3 separate regions of the Homo sapiens genome follow, and regions 1 and 3 are each linked to region 2. The links are contacts of gene promoters, found by promoter capture Hi-C in blood cells and fetal thymus (Javierre and others, 2016). All regions are on one chromosome and are shown on one strand. The core of a region is centred on a gene start or on the middle of the fragment in contact, and the rest is flanking DNA. Distances in the headings are between cores, read along the strand shown.

Region 1 (4,466 bases), core at 1,221-3,720, 630 kb after region 2:
ACTGCAAGGATGGGCCACCACAGCACGCCGCCTGAGGACAGCTTTATTTATGCTCTTGCAGAATGTACAAGTGGGCCTTGTTTTTCTGGACGGCTAGGGAGCACACTGGCTCACATAGCGTCCATGGTTCCACATTTAGAGTTGTGTCTTCATTCACATTCTTTCCATGCAGCTCACAGCTCCTGGACTGGATGACAGTGGTCACTTTGCCTGGGCCAGTCCCCCGGACAGATGCCAGCTCTGGGCCATGCAGACCCTGAGCTTGGGCTCAGTTTTTGGTCTGGAGCTTGGGCTCAGTTCTGCGGCTGTGTTTCTGGCTGGGGATGGTCTGCATCAGGATACCCGCTGTAACTGACACAGACATAGAGTCTATTACACAGGGCAGGTGGGGGAACATCCAGGAGAAATTAGATTCTGCAGGTGTCAGCTATGCTCAGGCTTGCTGGTTGGAGCCTCCAGCCAAGCTCTGAGGGCTGCCTGCTCCTAGGACAGGCTCTTGCTGGGTCAACTGTGTTTTATTATTCTCTCCCTACCCCTCCTGCTGATGTCATTGACAAAGCTACCCGCCAGTGCCCGGCCCCCGGAACATTCCCCAGCCATCCCACGGTGCTCTTTCCTCAATCAGCCACTTCAAGCAAACACCATTCGCTCCTGCTGCAGAGCAAAGCTTGCTGTTTCTAGGATCCTAAACAAGACATGAGGTCATGCTCTCCACCTGTGAAGAATGAAACGTAAGCTGGGGAAGGAAGGTGCTGAGGAGGGGAGGAAAGCAAATTAGGAAGACCAGCGGCCCTGCCGAAGCTTTCAGCTCATGTTACTCACACCCCAAAGCAAACTCCTCCATAAAATGAGGTTTAGTAATGCAACATTTTCTAACATCTGGAACAAAATGATTTGGGTCAAACAGATGACATATGAACTGACTGTAAATTTGTTTCAATGTGTACTGGGAGGGAGGGAAATTAACAAATATGTCAAATCCATGATCTATTAAGTATTGTTGTTTTCCATAAAGTTCTTCTGTTCAAGAAAAAAAGCAAGTCAATTTAAATTTTCTTTAAAGGAAAATAGTAAGTAAATGTTGATACAGATGGTTGAGGTGTAGCAAAAATCATGGGAAAAAATAACAAATAAATGACTAACATTTTGGGAAGCTTTGCAATAGACGAGCATATTCATGTACATGAGCTCCCCTGACCCTGAATCCCACAGAGCACAGGCATTCTCTCCACTTTAGAGATGGGTAAACTGAGGCTCAGGAAGGGTAAGTATGTGACATGTCAACTGACCAGGAAATAATGGAGCCAGGGCTCAAAATCCTGTGTACTTTTTAAATGTTGGCTCCCATCTCAAGTTGATGGCTTTTGTCTGACCTTTTGGCATGCGTTTGTTTTGGCAAATGGGGAGGTAGGGAGGTGGGTGGGTAAAATTGAGGGGTTCACTTTGGGCCTCCCTCAAAGCATCTCTGAGTGCGGAGCAGCAAGTAATCATCCCCACAGCGAGGTTCTGAAGCTCTCAGGGCAAAAGGCAAGTCTTGAGGCTCCCAGGAGGAGGCGGGTCTGAATGCTCCTGCTGGTTGGAATCTCACACCTTAGTCTGCAGGGCAAGGAGGAGCTGTTCTTTGTGACTTGGTTTAGACAAAAGTACATAGACCTGGGTCCCTGTGGCCCTGGCTGTCAGCCGGTTCAAGGCTGGAGGTGGTGCCAGGCCCCAGCTTGGGGCTGGGACACAGGTTGCTGCCCTTGAAGAGCCCACAGGGGCAGAAGGGACAGTCTACAAATAGACCCAAAGACACAGCACACTGCAAACTTGCAGAGGCTTTGAGCGCTGCACAGAGCAGGACACCCAGCGGGGGCCAGTCATCTCCGCTTTCTCAGGCCACAGTCAGGGAAGCATAAAAAAGAACCTTGGAGAGAAAGGGGGAAAAAAACCCACTCTTGCATTAAATCCTGGTAGCAAGCAGACTATCCTAGGGCCAGCTTGGGAGAGTAAGGAAGGCACTCTGGGAGCTGGCATGGCACAAGCCAAGGAAAAGCCAGTGGAAAAAGTTGGGGGATCTGTGGGCAGTTTGGGGAGCAGGTGACCCCAGCCTGAGACAGAAAGCAGCCATTGGGAAGGCAGGCATGAGCCCACCTCAGGGTTGAAGGGAGGCCAGCCCTTCCCAGAGGTGGAGAGGGGAGCCTGGCAGAACGGGACTTGTCCACTGGTGCTTGGACTTTGCAAACAACCGGGCTTGCTGTAGCCAAGCTTACCAAGTGGACACTTACCTTGCCTCTTCCCCGATTATTTCATATCCTTCTGTAACTCTCACCCTGAGACCCAGCCTGGCCTTCCCCTAGCTGCAGATTATTCTGCTCCAAAAGCACAGCAGAGGACGGCTCCTTACTCGAGGAATGCGGGCGGCGGTCGTCCAGAGCCGATGATGAAACGGGCTATTTCTGCCCCGGGACATCAGCAGGGCTCTGGGCTCTGGCTCCAAGGCACACACTCTCCTGTTTTTAATGTTTCCCTAAACAAATGTTTTCCTTCCCACCTCGGGATATTTTTATTTGACTCTAGGTGCTGGAATAGCTTTAGCAATCATTCTGGATTGAAGTTGGAATCGTGGTTAGGGTCCGGCTAAGCGGCAAGCAATTTCTCACTCCCCAAGTGATCTGTTACTCGTGGCTGATTTGGAAGTAAAAATAGCAGCTGAGGCTGTTTGTTTAATCTGACTGTTACTTGACACCACGCGGGTGTTGCAGTGCGGACTGTTTGCCTCTTCCCCACCAAGAACACCATTTGGTTTCCCCCGGCTGGGTCTCTATTTAGGTAAGCTTCGCGGACTTCCCGTGTCTGGCCGGCTTCTGGTCACTGATCTTCCTCAGGTGGGTAGGTTTGTGAGCTAGAGGAGGCTTGGGTCCTGAATCCACTCTCCTATCACCTTTGGGCAGCCTGGATAAAGAGGAAAGAAGTCTTGGCTGCTGGGCAGAGCCGGGTTTCTCTCCCATTCCCGAGGAGGCCTGAGCAGCTGGACACGCAGAGAGCGGAAGGTACAGCCCAGACACTTGTCTGGCTCCTTAGCGTGGGCAGGGAGGCTCAAGTTCATGGCGGGAGGGATGTTCCCGCTGGGCCGATGCTGTGCTGGGGAAGTAGTTCGGTGCCAGGGTGCTGTGCAGGGTGGTATGTGTGTGCCGGGAGCCCATTGGTGTTGGGGCTAAGGTTCTTGGTGTGCTGGATGGGCCTCGGGGACCACGTACCCGGAACCGTGTACATGTGTGACTTTGTCCTTAGGTGTCATCTGTCAGGGATCTCTGCTCCCACATGGCTGAGTGCACAGATGTGCCCAGGCCACTGCGCTGTCAAATGGGTGACCCCATGGTCCCAGGTTTTCAGCATTCAGGGCTGAGGGAGGCTGGCTTTCTTAGCTCCCCCAGCGCTGGGCCAGGCAGGGTCACACCAGCTGTAACAAAGAGAAAAACTGGTGACTGAGACGTTCTGGCCTGTGGGCTCTGCGAGCATGTGTGTCCCCAAAACAAAGCCCGCCACAGGCTGCCTGTTCTTACACACCCTGGGAGGGCCCCCACCAGACTCCCACAGGGTATGCTTGACTGAGTCTAAAATTACCTCTTTTATTTTCTGGTGGAGAAGAATTGAACATTGAGAACGGCAGTGGTCAATGTGTGTGGAAAGCTAGATAGCCTTAAGAAAAATCATTGTGTAGGCCTTTCAGGTAGCTCCCTAAGTATAGGAACCTGGGAAGCAGATTAAACAGATGTGTGTAGTAAATGAGGTCCTGTTTTCCAGCATTTGAGTTCCCTTTGCAGTAGTGGCTGGTAACTCTGGTCTGTGGTCTGAGCATCTGGTTTTGTAAATAAAGTTGTATTGGCACACAGCCACCTTCATTCATTTGCATATTGTCTAAAGCTGCTTCTACACTATATCAGCAGAAACCATATGGCCTGCAAAACTGAAAACGCTTACAATGTGGCCCTTTACAGAAAAAGTTTGCTGACCACTGTGTTACAAGAACACATCTTGAGATGGGTCAATTTAATACAAAAAAAAAAAAAAAAAAAGCAGTGAAAGTTCTTGCTGTTAGAATAGTTTGTAAGCCAGACCCTTCAGGACCAGTGGCTGGCTGGCTCCTGAGCCTCCTGCACCTTCCAGGGCCCACTTTTTAGGCCTGGCTGATACAGGAAATGTCCAGTTTGCTGTCACGGTGCTGGGAGGGTTAGCTTAGCAGTAGAATCACCAGACACACAGCGTGTCCATGTGGCCTGGGCTGAGCAGGGCAGATTGTGCTTATCGGGGTGATTTATAAATAGCCTTCCCCGGGTGACCCAAGTCCAACACACATCTGCCCCTGGGTCTCTGGGAACAAGTTTGTCTGCTCTTGGATGACCAGAAGCTCACTGGGAAGGGAACAACTGTGTGCGGTGGGTAAGAAGGGGGCTGGTAGAATGCTGTGTCCTGGAGCAGAGGGG
Region 2 (4,387 bases), core at 695-3,194:
CCACAGGATAGTTCTGCACCCTGGTGGTTACATAAATCTGCATGTAATACAACTGGAGTGATAGACATTGCATCAATGCCAGTTCCCTGGTTTTGATATTGTACTAAGTTATGTAAGATAGAATCACTGAGAGACACTGAGTCAAGGGGATCTGGGACCTCTTTGATTATTTTTGCAACTTCCTGTGAATCTGCAAAAGAGTAGGTACTCACTAGTGGCAACAATATACATTACCAGTCTAACATGTGTACACATAGATAGGTCTTGTTAGGATGTTGAAACTGTGCCAATGCATGTTATTATTACTACAGTTTTAAAGATTTCTCTAAAAAATCAAAAAGCAAAATGTATATGATAATTAAAGAATACAAAAAATTAAAAAACATTATTTGATAAAATTAAATTCTTATTGTGATTTTAAAAATAAAAAATAAATCTAAAAATTAAACTGTTAGCATTTCTGGTGTTTGTTTTGCATCTAGTGGGTGCTATGAAGAATCTATGTCATACTTCACGCAAGTGACATTATACATCCAGAACAACACATATGCATCTAAGAGGGAGTGAGCTGTTTAATAGCATGAAATATTTCCAGGCTGCAATGAAGAACCATTGTGAATTTTGCAATGATATATAAGTACCTATGAAACTATGAATTTGAACTCAAAGAGCAGAAAAAAAAATACATGTCTGGCACTATTCAGAGATGAGATTTCTTATGGAGAACCTACTACATTTAGGTGATCTGAGAGGAAGCCTCTGGAAGTTTAGATTTTTTTCCTATTGCTTCCACGTTCAATTCCTCCTAGACATGGAAGCAATGTTCCTGCTGGCAATGGCACAACCCATAAACCTAAGCTGATCCTGCAAGCCAAATCCATAACATTTGGATCCAATCACATTTTCTTTTGAGGACATACATAGGGCAAGAGATGAGGTGCTGGACAATGCCAGTCCAGTGAGCAGGTGTGCAGGGTCAGGGCCATGGGTCATGCAGGGCAGCACTGGGCACACCTCTCGAGGAACAGAGGTGCCCATTCCATACATCCATGAATAGATGTGTGCTGTTTGGGTTCTCATGGGCCCTCAAAGTGTAGAGTCCAAGATAGGGCCCTCCTTGGTTTCCTGGACAGGTAGCATCTTAGTTCTTATGTGGGTATGAAGTCACTGCTGACTCCATGGCCATGTGTCACCAGGTTTACACCTTACCCTCCAGCAGGCTGAGCTGTCAGAGCATATGGAGGCTGCCTTGCTCACCTTGGTCTTTCCACTCAGGAATAGCACACAGATGCTGGGGCTCAGAAGCTTTTGGGGAAATGAGCTGCACAGGATTCTCTGTGGGTCCACTGGGAGCCCAGCTCTGTGGTCTCTCCCTGTGAAGTAGAGCACAACCTCGCTGCAGGGAGACTTCTGGGTTTGCTGCTCCTGGGCCAGGGATCTGCTACTGCAGTTATGCCTTGGACTCCGTGCCACTCTGAAATGCAAGGGCAAAGACTTCAACCAATGCTGCTTCCAGACCAGCTTATCCTAGTGTTACTTTTGGAAAATGCTTTCTTCTTGTTTTTTAAAAAATTTATCAAGCATTAGTTTCTTTAGAGATGGCCCTCCAAATCCCTTCCCTGTCAGTGTGCTCATGCCCTTCCTCCTGCCAAGAGGTGGAAATGATGCTACAGTAGTTCTGCATGTAGACCCTAAGAAGCCTGGAAGCTTCACTGTCTTTCTCTCTGGAAGCCAAGCTGTCATATTTTATAAGATTTGCACTGTCTAACGAATGATGAGAGGGCATGGAGGGAAAGAGAGTCTGCAAAGGAAGAGCACTGAGGCACCAGTCTTGTGAATAAAGCTTCCCTTGGATATTCGAGCTCCCAGCCCCCTAGTGAATGCAGCCAGGTGGCTCTCAGTCCATGCTGTGTGGAGCAGAAGAACCCCCCAGCCAAGCCCTGCCTGCTTCCTGTCCCACAGAATTGTGAGAAATAATAAGTAGTTGTTATTTCAAACCACCATATTTTGTTATGTAGCAGCAGATATCTGAAACACTCCTCAATAAAGCTTGGGAAAACTTGACTGTTAAATGTTTGATTGAGCACCTACTATTTCTTAGGTCTGTACTAGGGGCTATGGCTATGGAGATAAACAAGAAAAATTCCCTGACTCAAGAGCTCACTAATCAAAATGGCAAGGAGGAAATTATAACAGAGCAATTTGCAGAATGGATGAGCAATAGGAAAAGTGTAGGGGACTGTAGAGGACTAGGAGGGAGGGAGAATCCTATCCCACAAAGGCAGGATCAAGGACTGAAATCTCCCCCAGTGCCACCACCCAGCAACAACTACTGGGGGCAGTTTTTTTTTTTTTTTCAGTTGCAAGATTTAATAGAGTGAAATAGAGTGAAAACAGAGCTCCCATACAAAGGGAAGGGACCCAAAGGCGGTTGCCGTTGCTGGCTCGAATGCCTGGGTTTATATTGCAATCCTTGTCCCTCCCACTGTGCTCTCAGGCAATAGATGATTGGCTATTTCTTTACCTCCTGTTTTTGCCTAATTAGCATTTTAGTGAGCTCTCTGATTGGTTGGGTGTGAGCTAAGTTGCAAGCCCCGTGTTTAAAGGTGGATGCGGTCACCTTCCCAGCTAGGTTTAGGGATTCTTAATCGGCCTAGGAAATCCAGCTAGTCCTGTCTCTCAGTCCCCTCTCTCAACAGGAAAACCCAAGTGCTGTTGGTGAGGTTGGCTGATGACCACTCTAACTGCTTCCTGCTGAACTGGGGCATAGTAGGGGTTGTGCAGTTGAGATTTCCTCAGGAGGAGTGACTTCGATGTCATTAACACCAGAGCATGGGCTAGCAGGCCAGTCTAGGGGTCCGCGGGAGATCTTAGACATGGACTGCATCTGGGGTTCCATTTGAAGAACGATTTGTAGTTTTACAGTTTTAATTCTGGAAGACACAAACTTAACAAGGCGGTTAAAGATACAGGGATTGAAATGTATGGCCTGCAGTGCAGGGGATTACTTCTTTGGCACACTTCACAGGCCCTGACTATCTGCTTGATAGTTTTGAAAAGGCCTGGTTCAGTAAATAATAATTTGGCCATCTGATGGGTGCTATCGATGCCTAAGTGGAAGGTTTGGTGAAGGCTTTTAAGTAATTTTATTGGTTAGCTCCAGGCAAAAGTATTTTTCCTTCTTCAGTGGCTAGCCATCTGGAGGGGAGGAAAGTATGTCCTTGTGAGGTTCCTTATTCTATTTTTCCTGCTGAATACTGGGGCTTGGTTTCCCGGAGGGGATTACCCTGTACTAGGGGCCCTTCCATAAGCATTTCTAATGGAGGGTCCTGCCTTGCGGCTCTTTTGACTTTAAGATCCGCTTGGCGGTTCCTTTCTATTTCCCTTTCCTTTCCTTTCTGGTGACCCCAACAGTGTAAGACTGCCACCTCTTTAGGTTTCTGTATAGCCAATAGTAATCTCCTAATGGCTTCCTGATGTTCTATAGGTGTTCCCTCGGAAATTAGGAATTCCCTTTCTCTCCATATTGCTGCATGGGCATGGAGGACTAGGTAAGCAGACTTAGAGTCTGTATATATATTTACCCTTTTCCCTTCTCCTAATTCTAGTGCCCGAGTGAGGGTTATTAGTTCTGCCAGCTGAGCACTAGTTCCTGGAGTGAGGGGATTACTTTCAAGTATTCCTTTATTACTGACCACTGCAACCCCTGCTTTTCAAAGTCCTTTTTCTACAAAGGGACTTCCACCAGTATACAAGTTGAGGTTGGGATCAGTCAAGGGAACCTCTAAAAGGTCCCCTCAAGTGGCATAGGTTTGAGCGATTACTTGTTGACAGTTATGTTCTATCTTTTCTTCATTGTCTGGGACATATGTGGCTGGATTAAGAGTTGCACAAGTGCGCAGTTGCAGCACTGGCCCTTCAAGTAATAGAGCCTGATATTTAAGTAAATGGTTAGCTGACAGCCACAAGTCTCCTTTAGCAGTGAGTATGCTGTTCATTTCATGAGATTTCCACACAGTAAGATCTCTTCCCTGTATTATTTTAACTGCTTCAGATACTAAGACTGGGCAGTTTGTAGCATTTCTCTCCAGCGTTTTGTCAGTGGATTGATTTGCCATGGATGCAGTGACAAAGCTGGTTATAAATAATGTTGAAGACTCACTATGTGCTGGGTGCTGGGAGCCATTCCACTGCTTCCCTTGAAACCACTCAGAAAGAAGGCTACTGCTGTAGTACCCATTGGATAGATGAGGAAGCCGAGGCTTACAGAACTGAAGGTCAGGCAGCCAGTAAGGCACAGAGGCAGGACTCCCACCCAGGCACTTCAACCCCAGAGCCGGTGCCTGCAGCCAGACTGCTCACCTGCTTTCTAACTTAACATTATAAA
Region 3 (4,381 bases), core at 1,377-3,876, 520 kb after region 2:
GGTCAGGAGTTCAAGACCAGCTTGGCCAACATGGAGAAGCCGCATCTCTACTAAAAATACAAAATTAGCCAGGTGCGGGGGCATGTGCCTGTAATCCCAGCTACTCGGGAGGCTGAGGCAGGTGAATTGCTTGAACCCAGGAGGTGGAGGTTGCGGTGAGCCGAGATCGCGCCATTGCACTCCAGCCTGGGCAACAAGAGCAAAATTCCATCTCAAGAAGAAGAAGGAGGAGGAGGAAGAGGAGGAGGAGGAGGAAGAAGAAGAAGAAGAAAAAGAAGAAGAAGAAGAGGAAGAAGAAGAAGAGGAAGAAGAAGAAGAAGAAGAAGAAGAAGAAGAAGAAGAAGAGGAAGAAGAAGAAAAAGAGGAAGAAGAAGGAGACTAAACACATGCAAAATATTACTACGGAACTCTAACCTGTAACTATCACTTCATCACTTCTGTTTCATCCGTGTCAGCTCATAGAAAGGCATGTCTTTCAACTAAATATATTGGATATTGTTGGAAATACTAAAGCATAATTAACTTAGTCAAATTCCTACTGATAGTCTCTTGTTTCTGGTTCCCACCGTGGTTTCGGCAGTGTTGAATAATACCCTGTGAAATATTTTGGGAGGGTTTTACCATATTATTTCATCAGGTTATATTCCTGGAGGTGGAATTTCTGGGTGAAGGGTTATGAACATCTTACATTTCGCTTACATTGACACCCAGATTTTGCCAAATTGCCCTCTGGAGAGAGTGAATAAATGAGTCCCCTCATATCCAATAGTGAGTGCTCACCACTTATCACATCCCATGCTAAGTGCTTTAAATGTGGTAACAGATTTCATTTTCCCAATAGTCCTGTGAGGTGTCCCCAACTTACAGATGAGAAAACTGGGCACAGAGAGGATTAATTCTTTGTCCAAGTTTTCCAGGCTGGTAAACAACAGAACAGGGATGAACATTTAAGGAGTCTCGTACTGGATACCCACTCCTAACCACTGTGTACCTCTATCAATAGTATATGAAAGCAGAAACGAGCTGTGATGCCTTGGCCCAGTGATTAAAACCTTATCTATAACATGCAGGTAATTGTGGCACCTATTGCACAGAGTTGCTGTGGGAACCAAATGAGCTCATGTAACATCTTCAGCAGAGCACCCAGCACATCGACACACTAAAAAATGCGAGGAGGTGTTAGATCTTTTATTATTTGTGAGACTGGACATTTTAAAGTTTTATTGTCTGTGATTCTTCAATGAATTGCCTGTTTATATAATTTGCACATTTTTCATTGGATTTCTTAAATTTAACTTCCTTTTTTTGTACCAGGACAGACTAGTTTGTTTATCTAGGTAAGTCAAAAGCAGAAATAAGGGTTACAACTTCTCTTACCTTCCACCACGTCTCTGGGCAGGCACACTGCATCTAACCACCGTGCACACCCTTAATCGCTGCTTGCTGGTGCCTGACATCCCTTCACAGTCACTGCCAACGGCCCGTTTCCATGTGTAAACTGATGGATGATGTGGCTGGCTGTCTGTCTGACATGCTGACTCCCAAGGCCAAAGTCTTTGCTCTCCCCTGCTTAGTGCAGACTTTAGATGGAAACCTGCCCACAGCACTAACTTTGCCCGCATTCAGGATACAACCTATTGGTCTGGAGACACAAGATTTAATCTGGAGACAGACTGCTTCCCATTGAGTCTCGGCCCAGTGCAAGTTCTGGGAAGGAACGTCTTTGTATATATGAGGGACGTATGCTGCCTTTTTAGGAAACAACAGTTGATATCAGAGGGGACTTCGTAAAGGCATGTGTCTCTCTCCATCTCTGTCTCCATCTATGCATATTTCTAACCATCTCTCTATGTCTCTGTCTGTCTCTCTCTCTCTCTCTTTGAGTTTCTTCCTCTCTGTCTACTTCTCTGACTTTATATTTCTCTCCTCCATTTGGCCCTACTTTGTTTTAGTCTTTGCCTCTCTCCTTTCTTCCTTCTTTCAAGGAATGCATTAAAGATAATTTTTAAAAACAAAGATACCTCTGAGTAGCAAAGAGTCTGCTTCACTGCATGAGAATTCTGATTCAACATTAAATGTATACCAGTATCTACATGCCTACATGTTCTCATTCTATGTCAGTATTTTGATTTGACTTAATTAAATTTAACTTAACTCTCTTGAAATCCCAAAAAGTAAACATGATTATCTCCCATCTCATTGGTTCAGAAAGTTAGGGAGTTTCAGAAGCTTATTCTAGTTTATCAGCAATGGAGCCACAGTTTACACCCAGATGTTTCTAGATCCCAAGCCCGAAGCTCCTTCTGCCATGACCCTTCCTATTCTCCTTTAGCCCAGAAGCATTTGTAAGTTGCAGCTGGAATGAGACAAACAAGATCATTGCTCACTACCAGATCAAAGTGAGAAACATCATCTGTGTAAAGGGACAGAGTTATGTTTTAGGGATCAAGCCCCAGTGGGCTAAGGCTCCCCCAGTTTCCTGCCCACTGAGGCTCCCCCGGGCCAGAGACCCCCGCAGTCCCCACTTACCCAGGAGGAAGAGGATCCTCAGCATGCTGACCCCCAAGTTCATGCTGGCGCTCTGCTCTTGGCTCCTGGCTCCTGGCTGCTGGCAGCGCAGGCACAATGAGCCATGTGACCCAAGGCTCTGGGGACAGGACAAGACCCACGTGACTGATGGGGAAGGAAACCACTGTCACAGCCAGGAGGCTGTTCAGTTCCTCTCAGCCTCTCTGAAGACAGGGCTGAAGGAAGCCCCTGTCATTCTGGACTCCACCAGAAGCTGGCTGTGATTAGACCCATTGTACATGCTGGGGTATTATACCCAGTGTTCTCTCCTATAATCTTCCCCACAGAGTGTGGGAACAAAGCTCGGTAAGGTGCGGTTTCTTGCCTAATGACCCATGCTAGTAAGTCTCAGAGAGGAATGTGGGCAAAGCCGGTCTGCCCTGCAGTCCAGCCCTTGCAGTAGCCTCTGCCTTGGAGCAGAAATAGGAAATGCCCCTCCAGCCAATAGTCCAGCTCGGTCACTGTTTTTGTGCCATGGGAGCCTCTGAGTCTAGGAATGCCTATCACTCTCTTCTCAGAATAAGATTTTTAAATCCCCAAACTAAAATAGATAAGGATCATAGTAGAAATCAGTAGTATTAACACACAGTTATCAAAATATTTTGTTAAACTTGTGAAGTAGAAATATACATGCTTATTTATCCACACAGTAAATAGCAAGATCTGGCAGCAGATGAAACAGCTACCACCATCTCGACATGGTGATAAATGGAATCGATATTGAGAGATACCTGTAACAGCTGGAATGTGGATGGAAAGACCTGTGATTCCTACCAGAAATAAAGTTACTGGGTGGTAATGTTTCTGTGGTTCGTTTGCCACACTACTATTAGAAGAAGATGCTAAGTGTTCCTTAGAGGTTAGAGAACAGAGATGTAATTTTTTTCCCATCCAAGTTTACAGGCCCCATGTCCAGGTCCTTAGCCTGGAGGAACTTTGGTAGTCACACAGGCTCAGCCAGCAGGCTGAAGGCCTTATGCTCCTGTACTCCTTTATACCTGCACGTTGTCACAATGCTTAGATGTTCAGCCAAAAACCCAAATGTGCAGGAAATGTCACTTTTTAAAATATAAATCAACTTAATGACAAGTCTTGAGTCCCCCACCCAACTGAGCTGGCAGAAATCGAGCTCTTTTCATTCTTGGGCTCCCTCAGTCAAATCCCTAACGGTAGCAGCCAACACCGTGAGCACTTGCTACTGAGCCCAATGCCATCTTAGCATGCAACCTGTCCAAGTCCACGCAGCAGTAAATGTGAGAGCTGGACTCGAAACCCAGGCCTTTGGCTGGCAGCCTATGCCCCTCAGGCTGCATGTGCCCTCTGTGTACAGGTACCATCCCCTGCCAAGGTCCAGCCAGAGGCAGTCCGATTGCCCTGGTGCCACAGATGCCCCCTGGGTTCTTCTGCATGGCTGCTGTGGCTCCTTCTGAGTTTCACATAAATAATGGACATGAGAGGAGAAGGCTGGTCATGAGAGAAGCAATTGGCTTCATCTGGGTGCCTTCAAGTTCCATCTGTCCACACTTTATTCATTTGATGAAATTAAGATCAGTTTCTACCTGCACCAAGAAACATACTCTCTTATTTCTCCTGGAATATGTGGAGTTTTCTTAATTTTGCCCCAGTTCATGGGAACATGTGTAAGAAAAATATTTCACTTTCCTCTAAGTGTATTGAAAGAAAATGCCAGTGCAGACCTGACAATCTGTAGACAGTGGCTGGGGACGGTGGAGCTACATTCAGGCCAGGCCCAGGGCTTCCAGCCACACCAGGCAGTTCTGTTTTTATATGAAATCAATAAGTTTCAAATGTC

The links. The method cuts DNA at HindIII sites, captures the fragments that hold promoters and counts their contacts. A CHiCAGO score of 5 or more calls a contact.
Region 1: a contact is called between the fragment with the promoter of C10orf71-AS1 here and a fragment that was not itself captured in region 2, in 1 of 17 cell types (megakaryocytes). The highest score is 7.1, in megakaryocytes.
Region 3: the fragment with the promoter of TMEM273 here is called in contact with a fragment that was not itself captured in region 2 in 2 of 17 cell types (fetal thymus and monocytes); the score reaches 7.0 in fetal thymus.

What each region holds. Positions count from the first base shown.
Region 1 is chr10:49,296,423-49,300,888 of GRCh38, forward strand. It overlaps C10orf71-AS1 (C10orf71 antisense RNA 1), which reads right to left and starts at 2,471. Exons shown (of 2, transcript NR_108038.1): 1 at 2,268-2,471; 2 at 1-351. C10orf71 (chromosome 10 open reading frame 71) reads left to right here and starts at 2,748. Exons shown (of 3, transcript NM_001135196.2): 1 at 2,748-2,811. RefSeq lists a silencer at 624-801. The HindIII fragment of the contact is 569 bases long and covers 2,246-2,814 here.
Region 2 is chr10:48,662,939-48,667,325 of GRCh38, forward strand. No RefSeq gene overlaps it. Among named protein-coding and RNA genes, the nearest start is that of WDFY4, 20 kb to the right of the region's middle. The HindIII fragment of the contact is 206 bases long and covers 1,842-2,047 here.
Region 3 is chr10:49,185,765-49,190,145 of GRCh38, forward strand. It overlaps TMEM273 (transmembrane protein 273), which reads right to left and starts at 2,627. Exons shown (of 7, transcript NM_001288740.3): 1 at 2,530-2,627. The coding sequence starts at 2,572. The HindIII fragment of the contact is 10,255 bases long and covers 2,228-4,381 here.